Regions from separate parts of the Homo sapiens genome. Here regions 1, 3, 4 and 5 are each linked to region 2. Evidence: promoter capture Hi-C in 16 types of primary human blood cells and fetal thymus (Javierre and others, 2016). All regions are on one chromosome and are shown on one strand. Each heading gives the region's core, a stretch centred on a gene start or on the middle of the fragment in contact. The rest is flanking DNA. Distances are from core to core; before and after follow the strand shown.

What was found. Contacts are between HindIII fragments. The CHiCAGO score rates a contact against its expected background, and 5 or more counts as called.
Region 1: a contact is called between the fragment with the promoter of HSBP1L1 here and the fragment with the promoter of CTDP1 in region 2, in 1 of 17 cell types (neutrophils). The highest score is 5.2, in neutrophils.
Region 3: a contact is called between a fragment that was not itself captured here and the fragment with the promoter of CTDP1 in region 2, in 1 of 17 cell types (naive CD8 T cells). The highest score is 5.0, in naive CD8 T cells.
Region 4: a contact is called between a fragment that was not itself captured here and the fragment with the promoter of CTDP1 in region 2, in 1 of 17 cell types (monocytes). The highest score is 5.5, in monocytes.
Region 5: a contact is called between a fragment that was not itself captured here and the fragment with the promoter of CTDP1 in region 2, in 1 of 17 cell types (monocytes). The highest score is 6.7, in monocytes.

Annotation. Positions count from the first base shown.
Region 1 is chr18:79,963,193-79,965,892 of GRCh38, reverse strand. HSBP1L1 (heat shock factor binding protein 1 like 1) reads right to left here and starts at 1,250. Exons shown (of 4, transcript NM_001136180.2): 1 at 1,107-1,250. The coding sequence starts at 1,157. RefSeq lists a silencer at 1,024-1,593 and an enhancer at 2,689-2,700. The HindIII fragment of the contact is 8,145 bases long and covers 1-2,700 here.
Region 2 is chr18:79,678,446-79,681,145 of GRCh38, reverse strand. CTDP1 (CTD phosphatase subunit 1) reads right to left here and starts at 1,343. Exons shown (of 13, transcript NM_004715.5): 1 at 885-1,343. The coding sequence starts at 1,198. CTDP1-DT (CTDP1 divergent transcript) reads left to right here and starts at 1,401. Exons shown (of 5, transcript NR_136643.1): 1 at 1,401-1,752. RefSeq lists enhancers at 1,202-1,710, 1,711-2,218. The HindIII fragment of the contact is 26,865 bases long and covers 1-2,700 here.
Region 3 is chr18:79,385,498-79,388,197 of GRCh38, reverse strand. No RefSeq gene overlaps it. Among named protein-coding and RNA genes, the nearest start is that of NFATC1, 9.1 kb to the left of the region's middle. The HindIII fragment of the contact is 3,390 bases long and covers 1-2,700 here.
Region 4 is chr18:79,942,449-79,945,148 of GRCh38, reverse strand. It overlaps SLC66A2 (solute carrier family 66 member 2), which reads left to right. Exons shown (of 6, transcript NM_025078.5): 3 at 1,687-1,820. Among named protein-coding and RNA genes, the nearest start is that of SLC66A2, 7.9 kb to the left of the region's middle. RefSeq lists a silencer at 825-884. The HindIII fragment of the contact is 6,504 bases long and covers 1-2,700 here.
Region 5 is chr18:79,989,606-79,992,305 of GRCh38, reverse strand. It overlaps a transcript of TXNL4A not described here. Among named protein-coding and RNA genes, the nearest start is that of TXNL4A, 2.4 kb to the right of the region's middle. The HindIII fragment of the contact is 1,408 bases long and covers 691-2,098 here.

The sequences.
Region 1 (2,700 bases), core at 1-2,500, 280 kb before region 2:
GACTTCTGACAAAGGTGCTAAGGCCTTTGGATTCAGAGGGAAAGGAAAGTCTTTTCAACAAGCAGCGCGGGAATCATGAGGGCCACGTGCAGACGGGGCAGGGACCCATCCCCCTCCTCACACCACACACCATGAATGCAGGAGATCACACACCTTGGCCCAGAGCCAAGGCCATAAAGCATGCAGAGGAGGATGCAGGAGAAAATCTCGTGACCCTGCGCTCCTCAAGAATTCTTATGAAATTACTTACCAGGTCACACAGAAATACCACCATTGCTACTGAAAGCGTTTCCTGTTTATATACTGCTTTGTAGTTTACAGACTGACGTCCCACACCATTCACGGTGTAATCTACTCCTCACCCTGCGACCGTGTCCAGGGTGAGATGAGAACAGTGAGGCTGAGAAGCACAAAATTCTCCCAGCTGGGGGTTCAAGATCCCAGGGAGCCCCACGTACCATGGTGTGAATCTAGAATCCCGTCGACATAGGAGGAGGCCCCACCTCTGAACCATGCCAGGGCTTTCTACCTTTGTCAGGAAATTTACGTTAGGGTTTGCACAACGCCCAACACATTCCTTCAGATTCCAGGTCTCTTCCTCATAGCCAGTCCTCTTGTGGGCCTGGAACTCTTTGGCAAGTAGGAAGGCCTGGGGAGCGGGAGGATTTCCCGGAAGAGGCCGGAGCCCTGGGCGCTGCGACACTCGTGGGTCCCCTTTCGGGCACCCTTTGGCCCAGTTGTTTCCCCACTGACCCCGACCTCAATGCCCCCCAGTACTGCAGGGCTCCCCCCAGGACCTCAGGCCCCCCGAGGATCGCAGGGTCCCCCAGGACAGCAGGGCTCCCCCCTGCACCTCAGGCCCCCCCAGGACCGCAGGGTCCCCCAGGTCTTCAGGGGCCCCCCCAGGACCACAGGCCTCCCAGGCACTCAGGACTCCTCAGGACCACAGGAGTCCTCAGGATCGCAGGCCCCCCAGGACCTCAGGGCCCCACGAAGACCGCAGGGCACCCCCAGCACCGCAGGCTCCCCCCCCAGGACCTCAAAACCCCCCAGAACCGCAGGGGCGCCCCCATCCAGAGAGAAGCAGGAGTCGGGGAGGGGCTCACCGCGTCCCGCAGCGCGCGCCCGCCGGGGGCTTCAGGGCCCCGCACGTCCATGTGGACCGCTGGCCGGGGGCGTCAGTGGGGGGTCCCGTGGGCCGCGCGGACCCGGCGCGAGGTGGCGACAGCTAAGCTCCGCGATTCCCGTATGGGCCGCCGGGAGGCCTCGGGCGGAGCGCGCTGCGTTCCAGGGCGGAGGCGGGGCCGGAGCGGAGAGGCGGGCGCTGCACCTGCAGGGACGCAATGTCACCGAGCGGCCGCCTCGGAGGACTGGTCCGCGCCCCCAGGCTCTGCGGCTTCCCGAGCCGAGCCGAGCCGAGGCCCCGGGACGGCCTGGGCGGAGCCGCCTTACTCAAGAGGGCCCGTGGGCGCCACCGGCCACCTACACCCCCAAAACGCTCCGCACGGGCAGTGCATGGGCCTCGGTCACCCCTGCTGCGTTTCTCAGAGACGGGGGCTCGCTCTGTGGCCCAGGCTGGGGTGCAGTGGCGACTATGGCTCCCCGCAGCCTCGACTTCCCGGGCCCAAGCGATCCTCCTGCCTCGGCCTGGCCAGTAGCTGGGACCACGGGCGCGCGCCACCAGGTCCGGCTGATCTTTTTTATTTTTTGTAGAGACGGGATCTTACTATGTTGCCCAGGCTGGTCTCGAATTCCTGGGCACAAGTGATCCTCCTGCCTCGGCCTCCCAAAGTGCTGGGACCGCAGGCCTGGGCCACCACGCCGGGCCTTCCCTGGCCTCTTTCACACCTGGGTTGTGGCTCGTCACCTTGTGGGTGACCTCCCAGGACGGTGTTTTAGGGTTACCAGTCTTGTTGCCATGTCTGTGCCCCTGTGCAGCGCTGTGGGAACAGGGCTATGTCTGGTCACCCCAGCATCCCTAGGGCACAGCCCAGTGACCACACCTGGAAGCTCTGGTGTCTCCATGTGCGGATAAATAAAACACAGCCACCCAGCACCACCGCTGTGGCGTGGCGGTTCCCGCCAGGTTACTTCAGGGCGGATGTCTGTGGCCTGAACCCTAAAGGCCAGGCGGTGAGTCCAGGCCACGGTGCCCAGCGAGGAGCAGGTGTCCCTGAGAACCCAAACAGCCCGGAGGGGATGTGAGAACCACCACAGGGAGCAGGCCCATCACACAGACGGCGCAAAGAGGCAGAAAATTAGCTCAAAAGCAGCTTAGGGACAGAAGCACGCTCATCTCTAGAGTTGTCCTGCTGCCCACGAGTGCCCCACATGTGAGTCCTAATAAACTCACCTACTCACCAAGCTGGACTCCGCCCAGTCATTCTTTGGTCTCTCAGCAACTCCCACTTTAGGGTAAGGTTTTAAATGTGATTCTCGGTTTTTCTCATTACAACCAGTCATCAGGAAAACACAAACCAAAACCACAATGAGCTCCCACTGCAACCCACCAGCATGGCTAGAATCAGAGAGACAAACGTAAGTCCGAGAGGCGTGTGGGGATTGTGGCCCCCCCCACGCAGCCGGTGGGCTGTGAAAGGCTGCAGTGCTGTGAAAAAGTCGGGTGGGTCCTCAGAAGTGAAGCAGTTTCCACAGGGCCCAGCCGCGCCACCCCTAGGCATATACCGAAACGACAGCGCG
Region 2 (2,700 bases), core at 94-2,593:
ACAGGGTCAGGGCAAGCCAAAGGGACGAGGAGCCGCGGCTGCCGAGGAGGGAAGAGAGTGGCATCCCCAGAAGGAGCGGCACCTTTCCCAGAGGGAGCTCACGCCCGGCCCACTGCGGGCTGGAGTGTCCACCTCTCCCTGGAGTTTCTGTTCTCACAATCAAAACTACCAGAGCCAGGCGCACACGCGTGTCCACTTGCCCGCCCATCCCAGAACACAAGGGTAGATTCAAACATGGCTGGACACTTCGGTGCTACGGAAACATATCCCCTTCTGGGGTCAGAGCACAGCTACTGAGAGCTGTGGAGTCTGTCACAACGCCCACGTCACCCTGAAGCAGCCTGCGACAATGCCCACTGTGGTCAACCACGGGGCTACTGCCTTCGCTGCAGGCCTGGGTTCCGCCCGTTCCTTAGCCACGAAACAGAACTGCACCAGGTTTTACAACTGCGTTTCACAAAGTTTACAAAAATTTAAAGATGTGCACACACCCAACAGTTTATATTTCAATAACAGGTCTGGAGCCTGCCTGATGACTCTTGTGCTCACAGCCACCCATGAGTTTTCCTAAGTCACAAAGGTGGAGCTAAAGGAAGGGGCGGGGACTATCACTGCAGAAAGAAAGAAACAAACATAGCTTTTCCAAACAGTAACTTCGTGTCGCTACGCAGGACCCTTTCCTTTTATCTCAAAATGCTCCCCGTTGGTAAAACCACAGGTGGTGACTATCCAGTTTTAGGGGAGAAGCGCAGTGCCTGCGTCCCGCTTTATCGCTCCCTCACCAGGGGCGCCCCTGCCCACCGCGGACGCAGCAGCCCGGGGGTCCTCCAGGATCCCTCCCCGGAGCCGCCCGCCCTCGGCCCCGCCCGGCTCAGCACACTCACCCTGGGGCGACCACCTGGCCCGGCTGCGCGCACAGCTCCCGCACCACGCCCGCGCGCTCCGACCTCAGCCTGCGTTCCGGCCGCGCGGGGCGCACGCAGCCCCCGGAGGCTACACGGGACTGAGAGGCCCCGGAGGACTGCGCGGAGGCGGCGGCCTCGAACACGGCCAGCACCGAGCCGATGCGCACGGCCGCGCCCGCCGCCACCCTCCACTCCAGCAGGCGCAGCGGCGCGGGCCCCGGGCAGCGCACCTCGGCCACAGCCGCCGTCGGGGCGCCCTCGGCAGGAACGCGACCCGCGGCCGGCACCTCCATCGCGGACAGAGGGCGGGCGGGCGGTCGGTACGGGGCCTGCGCTGCGCTCAGAGCGCAGCGCCTACCGCGGCGACACAACCCAGGCGGCGACGCTGTAGTTCCTCTCGGTACCGGCTTCCACCCGTCGCCTAGCCCGCGCCGACTTCCTGGAGGGCGCGTGACGTCACGCAAGGGCGCCGCGTACGTGCGTACGTGCGCGTGTAAATACGAGCGCCGCGCGGGGCCGGAGCCGGCTCCGTCCTGGGACCAACCCTGCGTGCCGGCCGTGAAGAACTGCGTTCCTGAGCCCTACCTACTTTTCCTCGGAGCGCCGGCACCGTGGAGCAGCGGCATGCAACGCGGGCCGCTGTCGCCCAGTCCCAGTGACGGTCTTGGCGCGCTCGGAACTACGTATCCCGGCGTGCACCGCGGACAGAGCATGGCGGGACTACGAGTCCCAGCGTTCAACGCAGGCCTGCGTGCCATTACCCCATCACGCGCTGAGACCCAGCATCCCGAGACTACGAGTTCCGGCATGCACCGCGAGCCGCTCTCCTCCACTCCCATCGCGCACTGTGAGTCGCAACGTCGCGGGACTACGGGTCCCGGCATGCCTTGCGCGCCGCGGGCCCAGAGACGTGAGGCTGTCGGCGTCCTGGTGGCCCCGCCTCGTGTCCCCCCCCGGACCCCACGCCGCGGGAGCTTGGGGGTTGCGGTCTTCTCTTCCTCCGACCTCACCTTCGATGCGGAAGCGCAGGGGCAGGTGCGCCGCCCTCGGCCCGCGCAGGCGGTGGGCCCGTCTGGGGCAAGGCGCCCGGAAGCGCCTGGTTGGTTCAGAAAATCGGACCGCAGCGGGAGGGCGGGCACCGGCGCGTGGTCTCAGTGGCCCCAGGCGAACCCTGATGAGCAGCAGCCGCAAGTGGCTTACTAAAGGAGCCACTTTCTACGTTTGTCTGGAATTTACGTGAATTAAGCTGGCGGGCGGGCGGCCAGGCCTGTAGTCTCAGCACTTTGGGAGGCTCAGCACTTCGGGAGGCTGTGGCGGGCGGATCACCTGAGCCTGGGAGTTGGAGACCAGCCTGCGCAACGTAGCAAGACCCTATCTCTAAAACAGATTCATTAATACTTAGCCAGGCGCGGTGGCTGAGGTCCCAGCTACTCGGCAGGCCCAGGCTGGCCTGAGCCAGACCGCTCTGGACTGTTTTAATTTTTTCAGCCTTAATACCTGCCAGAATTTTTTTTTTACTATGTATCTTTGTCCTTACGTATATAAATTTTATATACAATTGAGATTATCCTGTATTTGCTTTTCCCCCCTCACTTTTATATGGTGACTTTTCTCATGTTAGGCTGAATACTAACATTTTGGAAACTGTCGGCCTGAAAACGAGCGGAGACACAGTTTCTCTAAGTAGAGAGTTTATTTGGGCCACACTTGAGCACAAATTCAAGGCGCCCTGAATGTGTACTCCGATTAGCAGTTAACAGTGGATTTTAAAGGCAAAAAAGGGGGCCAGGGAGTG
Region 3 (2,700 bases), core at 123-2,622, 290 kb after region 2:
GACCGGGAAGAAGGGAGCCCCCACCCCTCCACCAGACTCCCCAGGACCTAGCAGCCCCAGCAACAGGCAGATGGGGCAGGATGAGAAACACCGACATCCCGCCCTCCCAGAGTCACTCTCCCCCACCCACCTGTGTCCTCAGCTGCAGCAGACCTGCTGGTGGAGTGGCAGGGGGAGGGGAGGAGGGGGTGGCTTTGGTTCAAATATCAAATACATTCACCTTTCCTAGTAAAGATGGTTTTTTAAAAAATCAGGTCTTTTTCAATAGATGTGTCTTCACTTGCTGCGTGTCCTTAGGACCATTTCCAGAGACTGTCAATGGCTGGGGGTTTTTAACTTGACCAGTTTCCCGGGGACGGGTTCACAGAGCACGTCAGCTCTCGTGTGAGAAGGCGCTTGCCCACAGCCCGAGTTTGGATTCCAGTCCCCGGTACACCTACGGGAGCCAATAGTAACGGCCTTCACCTCTCAGGGTAGATCAATGAGAGGCACCTGCTAATGGCTCAAGACAGCTTAATCATTATTTCAGAACAATGCTGTTGTGAATTGAACTGCCTCCTCCAAAACGATTCATTGAAGTCCCCTGGTCTCTGGGAATGAGACCTAATTTGGTAAGTGACATCTCTACAGTTGTAACTAGTTAAGATGGTGTCAGTTAAGGGGACCCCAATGATGACTGGTGCCCTCACAGGAGGAGAAGACAGACAAAGGGAATGTGGTGAGCCGACAGAGGCAGAGACTGGAATGATGGCTCCACGAGCCAAGGAGCACCTGGGGCTACCACGAGCTGGAAGAGGAAGGGAAGGGACCTCCGTGGCCGGTTCCAGAGGGCACTTGGCCTTGCTGACCCTCGACTGTGCCTTCTGGCCTCCAGAACTGAGGACATGTTTCTGCCATTCAAGCCACCCACTTTGTGGTCATTTGTGATGGCAGCCCCAGGAAACCAACCCAAAGGGCAGTGGTTTTCTTTTTTCTTTTTTTTTTTTTTTTGAGACGGAGTCTCGCTCTGTTGCCCAGGTTGGAGTGCAATGGCACAGTCTCGGCTACTGCAACCTCTGCCTTCCTGGTTCAAGCAGTTCTCCTGCCTCAGCCTCCCGAGTAGCTGAGATTACAGGTGCCCACCATCGCACCTGGCTAATTGTTGTATTTTCAGTAGAGACGGGGTTTCACCATGTTGGTCAGACTGGTCTCGATCTCCTGACCTCGTGATCCACCTGCCTCGGCCTCCCAAAGTGCTGGGATTATAGGCATGAGCCACCGCGCCTGGCCGGGCAGTGTTTTTCATTCCTTCCAGGATACCACACCTGTCACAGTGCGCTGTGGCCTTTCCTACAATGCATGTCCCCTCTCAGGTGGCCTGGCAGCACCCACAGCCTCCACTAAGACGCTCCCTTCCAGGCCAGTGCCCTGACATGGGCGCCATGCTCCTACTGGACAGAGCACTCCCTGTGGGATGACCTTTGCTCGAGGACCTCCACTGCCTGGCCTAAACTCCAGGGGGGTCACGGGAATGTTCCCACTCCCGCCATAGCCCACGCAGGGGCAGAGCCCACCCGAGGCCAGGGAGGTGTGCCTGCTGCTGCCCCACAGCCGCAGGGAATGGCGTTCTCTTCCTCTGAAGCCGGGGCCTGAAGAGTGCCCTCCTGGGGAAGATGTGGACCCCGGGGCTGCCATGGAGACAGGGACTCCAGAGGCCGATTCCATGCCCTGCTTGAGCCCCTGAGTCTAGTGGGACCTGAGAGCCTCCCCTGGGGTCTTCACCTTGGTGAGGAAGCAACTTCCCTTTTCTGCTCAATCGAGTTTAATGTGGATTCTGTCACTTGCACCTGAAGGAGGCCTAATTCACAGGAAGGCCATGGCTGAACAGGGTCCTCGCTTCCTCCATGGGGGTGGGGCCGCAGGGACACAGGCAGATGAAACAGCAACTCTAGCCAGAGGGAAGCTCCCGGTGAGGAGGCCGGGCAAGCCCGGCACAGCTGCTGCAGCCATCTGGGCCTCACACACCACGCTAGGCAAAAAAAAGTCCCCTTTAAACCTCGATTTCTCTTAGAAAGCACAAACAGGGCTGAGCTGACACTCCACTGGTGTGCACGGGGGCGGGGAAAGGATGCCACATGTGTGTCTCAGGGAGACATGACCCCTTCCCTGGCCCTCGAGTGCCAGGGGCCCGGGTCAGCCTGAGGCCAATGAGGACAGCTTCACGGAGATGCAATGGTCCTGCACAGCTGTGTCTTAAGAAGTCAGGAATGTGTGCAAAGCCCAGGGCAGAGGCGCTCTGTGCTTCGGAGCCTCTTCTCTGTTCTGCACTTCGCAGGACAAGCACACCCACCCCGGGTGTGTGCCCCTCTCACAGTGCCGGAGGGCTGAGGCAGGAGGGCCCAGAGCCGCGTCCTGATCCTGCAGGCCTGCTCTTTTTGCTAACGCTGGTCGAGAGGTAAATAAATCACATTTTTAGTTTCTGGCAAGAGTTTGGGTTTGTCCCTGTGAACTCACAATTGTTTTCCTCTTGCAAAATAATAATACTTTTCAAATGGCAATATTCCAACATTTTTCTTTAAACTACTTGGTTTACCCAAATCTGTTTACCCAAATCTGTTTAATTAGGCAGTAACACAAGGCAAGTCATCTCTGCCCCGGCCTTGGGCAGTGAGGCTGCGCTTTCTATTTTCCTTTGTGATGCTCAGCGACTCTCCTTCTGAT
Region 4 (2,700 bases), core at 160-2,659, 260 kb before region 2:
GGTTGCTGTGGGAGCCTCACCTGCAAGTGGAACCTTCTTACCTGCTGGGCTGGCTCACCTGCTGAGGGGGCTATAGGGTTCCCCTTGTTCCTGCTCTGAGTTGATAAGGCAGTGCTGAGGGGGCTATGGGGTTCCCCCTGTTCCTGTTCTGTTGATAAGGGGGTGCTGAGGGGGCTGTGGGGTTCCCCCTGCTTCTGCTCTGTGTTGATAAGGGGGTGCTGAGGGGGCTGTGGGGTTCCCCCTGCTTCTGCTCTGAGTCGATAAGGGGTTGCTGAGGGGGCTGCGGGGTTCCCCCTTCTTCTGCTTCGTGTTAAGGGGATGCTGCATGGGAGCTGGAGAGAGGTGGGGGCTGTGGTGGTTGTTGCTAGGTCTTCCAGTTTTTCAGAAGTTGGGAAATGAGGCTGTTATGTAGGATCTCCTGACTTTGACATGTTGGTGACCAGTTCAAGTTTTGAAAATTCCCTTCAGGCCAAACTGCAGGCTGATTGAGATTCCCGCGCTGGAACAGTCAGGGGTTGGGGCTTTCTATGAGTGCGTGCCACACACAGCCCAGCCTTGGAGGTGGTGGCTCTGCAGGCATGTGTCCCAGCTCTGTGGTGGCTCTGGGGAGGCAGAGACCGCAGGGAGGCAGAGACTGCCAGTCATTGGCCTGTGGTTCTGCCCTGCAGAGGCTCCTAGCTGAGCTGAAGAGATGCTCAACCCTGGTCAAAAGTCAGCAAGAAGGCCTGGGAGCCTGCAGCTAGAGGAGCTCGGGGCCAGGGAGGCGTGGGGGCGGGGGTGGTGCAGAGCCTTGGCTGTCTTCTCTTCTGTGGGAGTGTGTGTGCATGTGGAAATTTCGCATCTGGCCCACCTGCTGCTCTGCACACTATCCCCGCCTTCCCCAGGCAGGAAGCAGGGCTGCTGTGAGCTAGAAACTGGGCTTTTTGCCTGGTGGCAACCCGGAGGCTGCAGGGAGGGCCTGGGGCACCTGGGCTGAGCTGTGGGAGGGGACTCAGGGCCACTAGACCCGGGTACCAGTGCCTGGGCCACTGGTTCTGGGGAGCGCCAAATGTGCCGAAGGGTTCTGAGTCAGGCTGTATGGGGGTCTTACGGCCCCTCCCCGGAGCCCTACCCCACCTGGAGTCTGGGAGATGGGCAACAGGTGCCTGGTCACTGTGGTGTTTGCCAACTCCTGGGCTCCTTCCCCGGGATGCCGCTTGGGGCCTGGGAGAGGGGGAGTGGGTGGGCAGTCTTTCCTGCTGCAGGTTCAGGACTGGGTGAGGCGGCGTGGGTGGGCCTCCCTTCTGACCCGGGTCTCTCCCGCTGCAGGTTCGGGATTGGGAGAGGCGGCATGGGCGGGCCTCCCTCCCGACACAGGATCTTTCCTGCTGCAAGTTCGGGACCAGGAGAGGCGGCATGGGTGGGCCTCCCTCCTGACACAGGATCTTTCCTGCTGCAGGTTTGGGACCAGGAGAGGCGGCATGGGTGGGCCTCCCTCCTGACCCAGGTGTCTCCCGCTGCAGGTTCGGGACTGGGAGAGGCGATGTGGGTGGGCCTGACACAGGGTCTCTCCGGCTGCAGGTTCAGGACTGGGAGGGGCGGCGTGGGTGGGCCTCCCTCCTGACCCGGGTCTCTCCCGCTGCAGGTTCGGGACTGGGAGAAGTGGCATGGGTGGACCTCCCTCCTGACACAGTGTCTCTCCCGCAGGTTTGGAAGGCGCTTTGAGTCCCCGCTGCTGTGGCAGAGCGCCATCATGATCCTGACCATGCTGCTGATGCTGAAGCTGTGCACCGAGGTCCGTGTGGCCAACGAGCTCAACGCCAGGCGCCGCTCCTTTACAGGTTGGTGGCCGGCGCTTCGGAATAAAGTCGCAGGGAATCAGGGCGTAGGTGACTCTGGTGAAACAAAAGCCACTCTAATCTGTCCTGATCCAAGCAGCTTTCATTTCACCAAGTGGTGCTGTTATCTCCAGCTGATAGTGTTTTCAGTATGTTAAATGACTTCAGTTAAACGGTTTATGACTTGAAGCAATTCAAGATAATAGTTTCTTCACTGGAAGTTGGGTGAGGCCTCAACACATCTTCACGGTTCCTCTTGGCTGTGAGCGCCATCCCAGACGCTTTCTGTGTCAGAACAAGAAGTGCTCATCTGTGCCTGGCCCATCAGGTCAGACGGTACCAGGTCAGGCGTTTCGTCTGTGTGCGTGGCCTGTACACAAAACACACCCTTTCAGTTCTGCTGTGACTCAGGGGTACCTTAGCCAGGGTCTTCCTCACAGACCTTGTTAAACAGACCCAGAGTCCCCCCGCAGGGTCAGGCAGCCCCTTTATGCGGAGCACACTGCAGTGTTGACAGCTGGGCAGGACCAATCACATGCTTAGCACACATGGCTCCTTAACCTTTGGCAGCTTAGAAAATAGAAAATACTTCTTCCAGTTTTTGCCTATTGCACAGTTTGTTCCAGTCTGAACTCTGTTTGAACATGCAGGCTGGCGGGCTTCTTGTGTGCAGGAGGGTTAAATCCTTCCTTTTGTTTTTCTTCTAATTACTAAATCTAAGACAGCACTCACTTTGGCTTTGAGAGAGAGAGTGATCTCAGCTATCACTTGGAGAAGAGTATCTTCCCAGAGTTTGTTAAGTTTGGGGCTTCTGTGGATTTGAGCTCTTGCCGGGGAGCTGTGTCCCTGTGTTTCTATTCCTGACCGCTACTTCGTCCTGTTG
Region 5 (2,700 bases), core at 145-2,644, 310 kb before region 2:
CAGATTTGTATAGGCCTGGCCACTGAGGAACAGTCACTAACCATTAGGAAAAGGCAAATGAAAACCACCTTATCATTTTATACCTACCAGTATGACCATAATACAAGGCTGTGAAAGGAAAGTATCTTGGGTCCCTTCAACCTGCCTCCCATTCTAGTCAGTCATCCCTCTGCTCACTGAGACAGATGCACAGCTGACTGTCTCCTTTGGAAAGGCTGATCAGAAACTCACAAGAATGCAACTGTTCATCTCTCACATATCTGTGACCTGGAAGCCCCCTTCCCGCTTTGAGTCTTCCTGTCCTTGCTTCAAGTTGTCCCGCCTTTCCAGACTGAACCAATGTTCTTCTTACATATATTGATTGATGTCTCATGCCTCCCTAAAATGTATAAAACTAAGCTGTGCCCCGACCACCTCGGGCACATATCATCAGGACCTCCTGAGGCAGTGTCATGGATGCATCCTCAACCTTGGAAAAATAAACTTTCTAAATTAATTGAGACCTGTCTCAGATTTTTGGGGTTCACGAGGTACATAAATAACAAGCATGGGCAAGAATGTGGAAAAACTGAAACCCTCACACATTCCTGGTGAGAATGTAAAATGGTGTAGCCAATTTGGAAAACAATTTAGCAATACTTAAAAATGTTAAACAGTTACCACATGAAAACTTAAGTCCACACAAAAGCTTGTACATGAATGTTCATAGCAGCATTACTCATAATAGTAAAAAAATGCAAACAACCCAAATGTCAATCAACTGATGGATAAAATGTAGTATATCCATATAATGGAATAGTTTCTAATTTTTTGTTTTATTTAATGAAATATTCATCAGCAATTAAAAAGAACTAGCTGTTGATGTCTGCTACAATATGGACCTTGAGAACATTATGTTAAATGAAAGCAGTCACAAACGACTCCATATTTTGTGTTTCCATCTATATGAAATGTCTAGAATAGGTAAATCTATAGAGGCAGAAAATAGATTAGTGATTGCCAGGGGCTGAGGGAATGGGAGGGAAATGGGAAATGACTGTTAATGGGTATAGGTTTTCTTTTCGGGGTGATAACATTCTCCTAAAATTAGATTGTGGTATTGGTTCCACAACACTGAAAAACCATCTCACCTTCAATTGGTGAATTTTATAGTATATGGATTAGATCTCAACAAAAGTTTTTTTTTTTTTTTTTTTTTGAGACGGAGTCTGGCTCTGTCGCCCAGGCTGGAGTGCAGTGGTACAATCTCGGCTCACTGCAAGCTCCGCCTCCCGGGTTCACGCCATTCTCCTGCCTCAGCCTCCCGAGTAGCTGGGACTACAGGCGCCCGCCACCGCGCCCGGCTAATTTTTTTTTTGTATTTTTAGTAGAGACGGGGTTTCACCGTGTTAGCCAGGATGGTCTCGATCTCCTGACCTCGTGATCCGCCCGCCTCGGCCTCCCAAAGTGCTGGGATTACAGGCGTGAGCCACCGCGCCCGGCCAAAAGTTTTTATTAAAGAAAAGATTTATCTGGAGATGGATAGTGGTGATGGTTGCATAATATGAATGTACTTAATGTCCTTAAAAATTAAGGCGATAAATCTTGTTATAAGTAACACAATAAAAAATGAGTTTCAATAAATTATTTGGGGACATTTGAGTCTTATGCCTTAGCTTGGAACAACTCTCCTGTGAATAAAATGCTTGTGATGTGTTAAGCAACTGTGTTTGTATCTGAAATGAGTGACTACCAAAATGACGGTAAGGAATTTTTTAGAAGGCAATAGCCTGACCTTAGTAAGGGCTCAGATTTCTCCAGTGTGTACCTGGTGCCAATGAAGTACAGGAGATTTTGTTTTATCATCCCATCTCATGGATGAGGAAACTGAAGTTTGTTGAGATAACTTATGCAAGGCACAGATGAACCTGAACACGCCTTTATGTAACTAAAACCCTCACTGTTAACCACTATGCTTATATTCTGTGCCTCTGCTTTACTCAATTATAAAATGAAAGAGATTTAGATGATCTCTAATATCCTACCAACCTGAAATTGTTTCATTACAATAAAGCATTTCGTATATAATTGGGAAATATTCTGTATTATGTAAAAAGCTTAATCTGGCAGTGAGCTGCACTTGTGATTCTAGTATTTAAATTGTGGGTGCATATTATCAAAGCACCTTATGGTGCTGTGTCCCAGAGGAAACCAAACATGGAACCCATTTCAATCCCCATGCCAGCAGGCTCTTCAGACTGTAGTTCTCACCATGCCACAGCCCATCTGAGAGACACCACAGCATCTGCATAGTGATTTGTTGTTGTTTTTGAGATGGAGTCTCACTCTGTCACCCAGGCTGGAGTGAAGTGGTGCGATCTCAGCTCACTGCAACCTCCACCCCCTGGGTTCAAGCGATTCTCCTGCCTCAGCCTCCCTAGTAGCTGGGATTATAGGCGGGCGCCACCATGCCCGGGTAATTTTTTGTATTTTTAGTAGAGACGGGGTTTCACCATGTTGGCCAGACTGGTCTTGAACTCCCGACCATAGGCGATCCGCCGGCCTCGGCCTCCCAAAGTGCTGGGATTACAGGCGTGAGCCACCGCGCCCGGGCGTGATTTGTTTTAAATTTGTCATCTAAAGGACCACCAGGATAGCTAGATAGTAGACAAGAGTTTTACTATCAATATCAGTTTGCAAACCAGGGAGTCTCCAGCATGA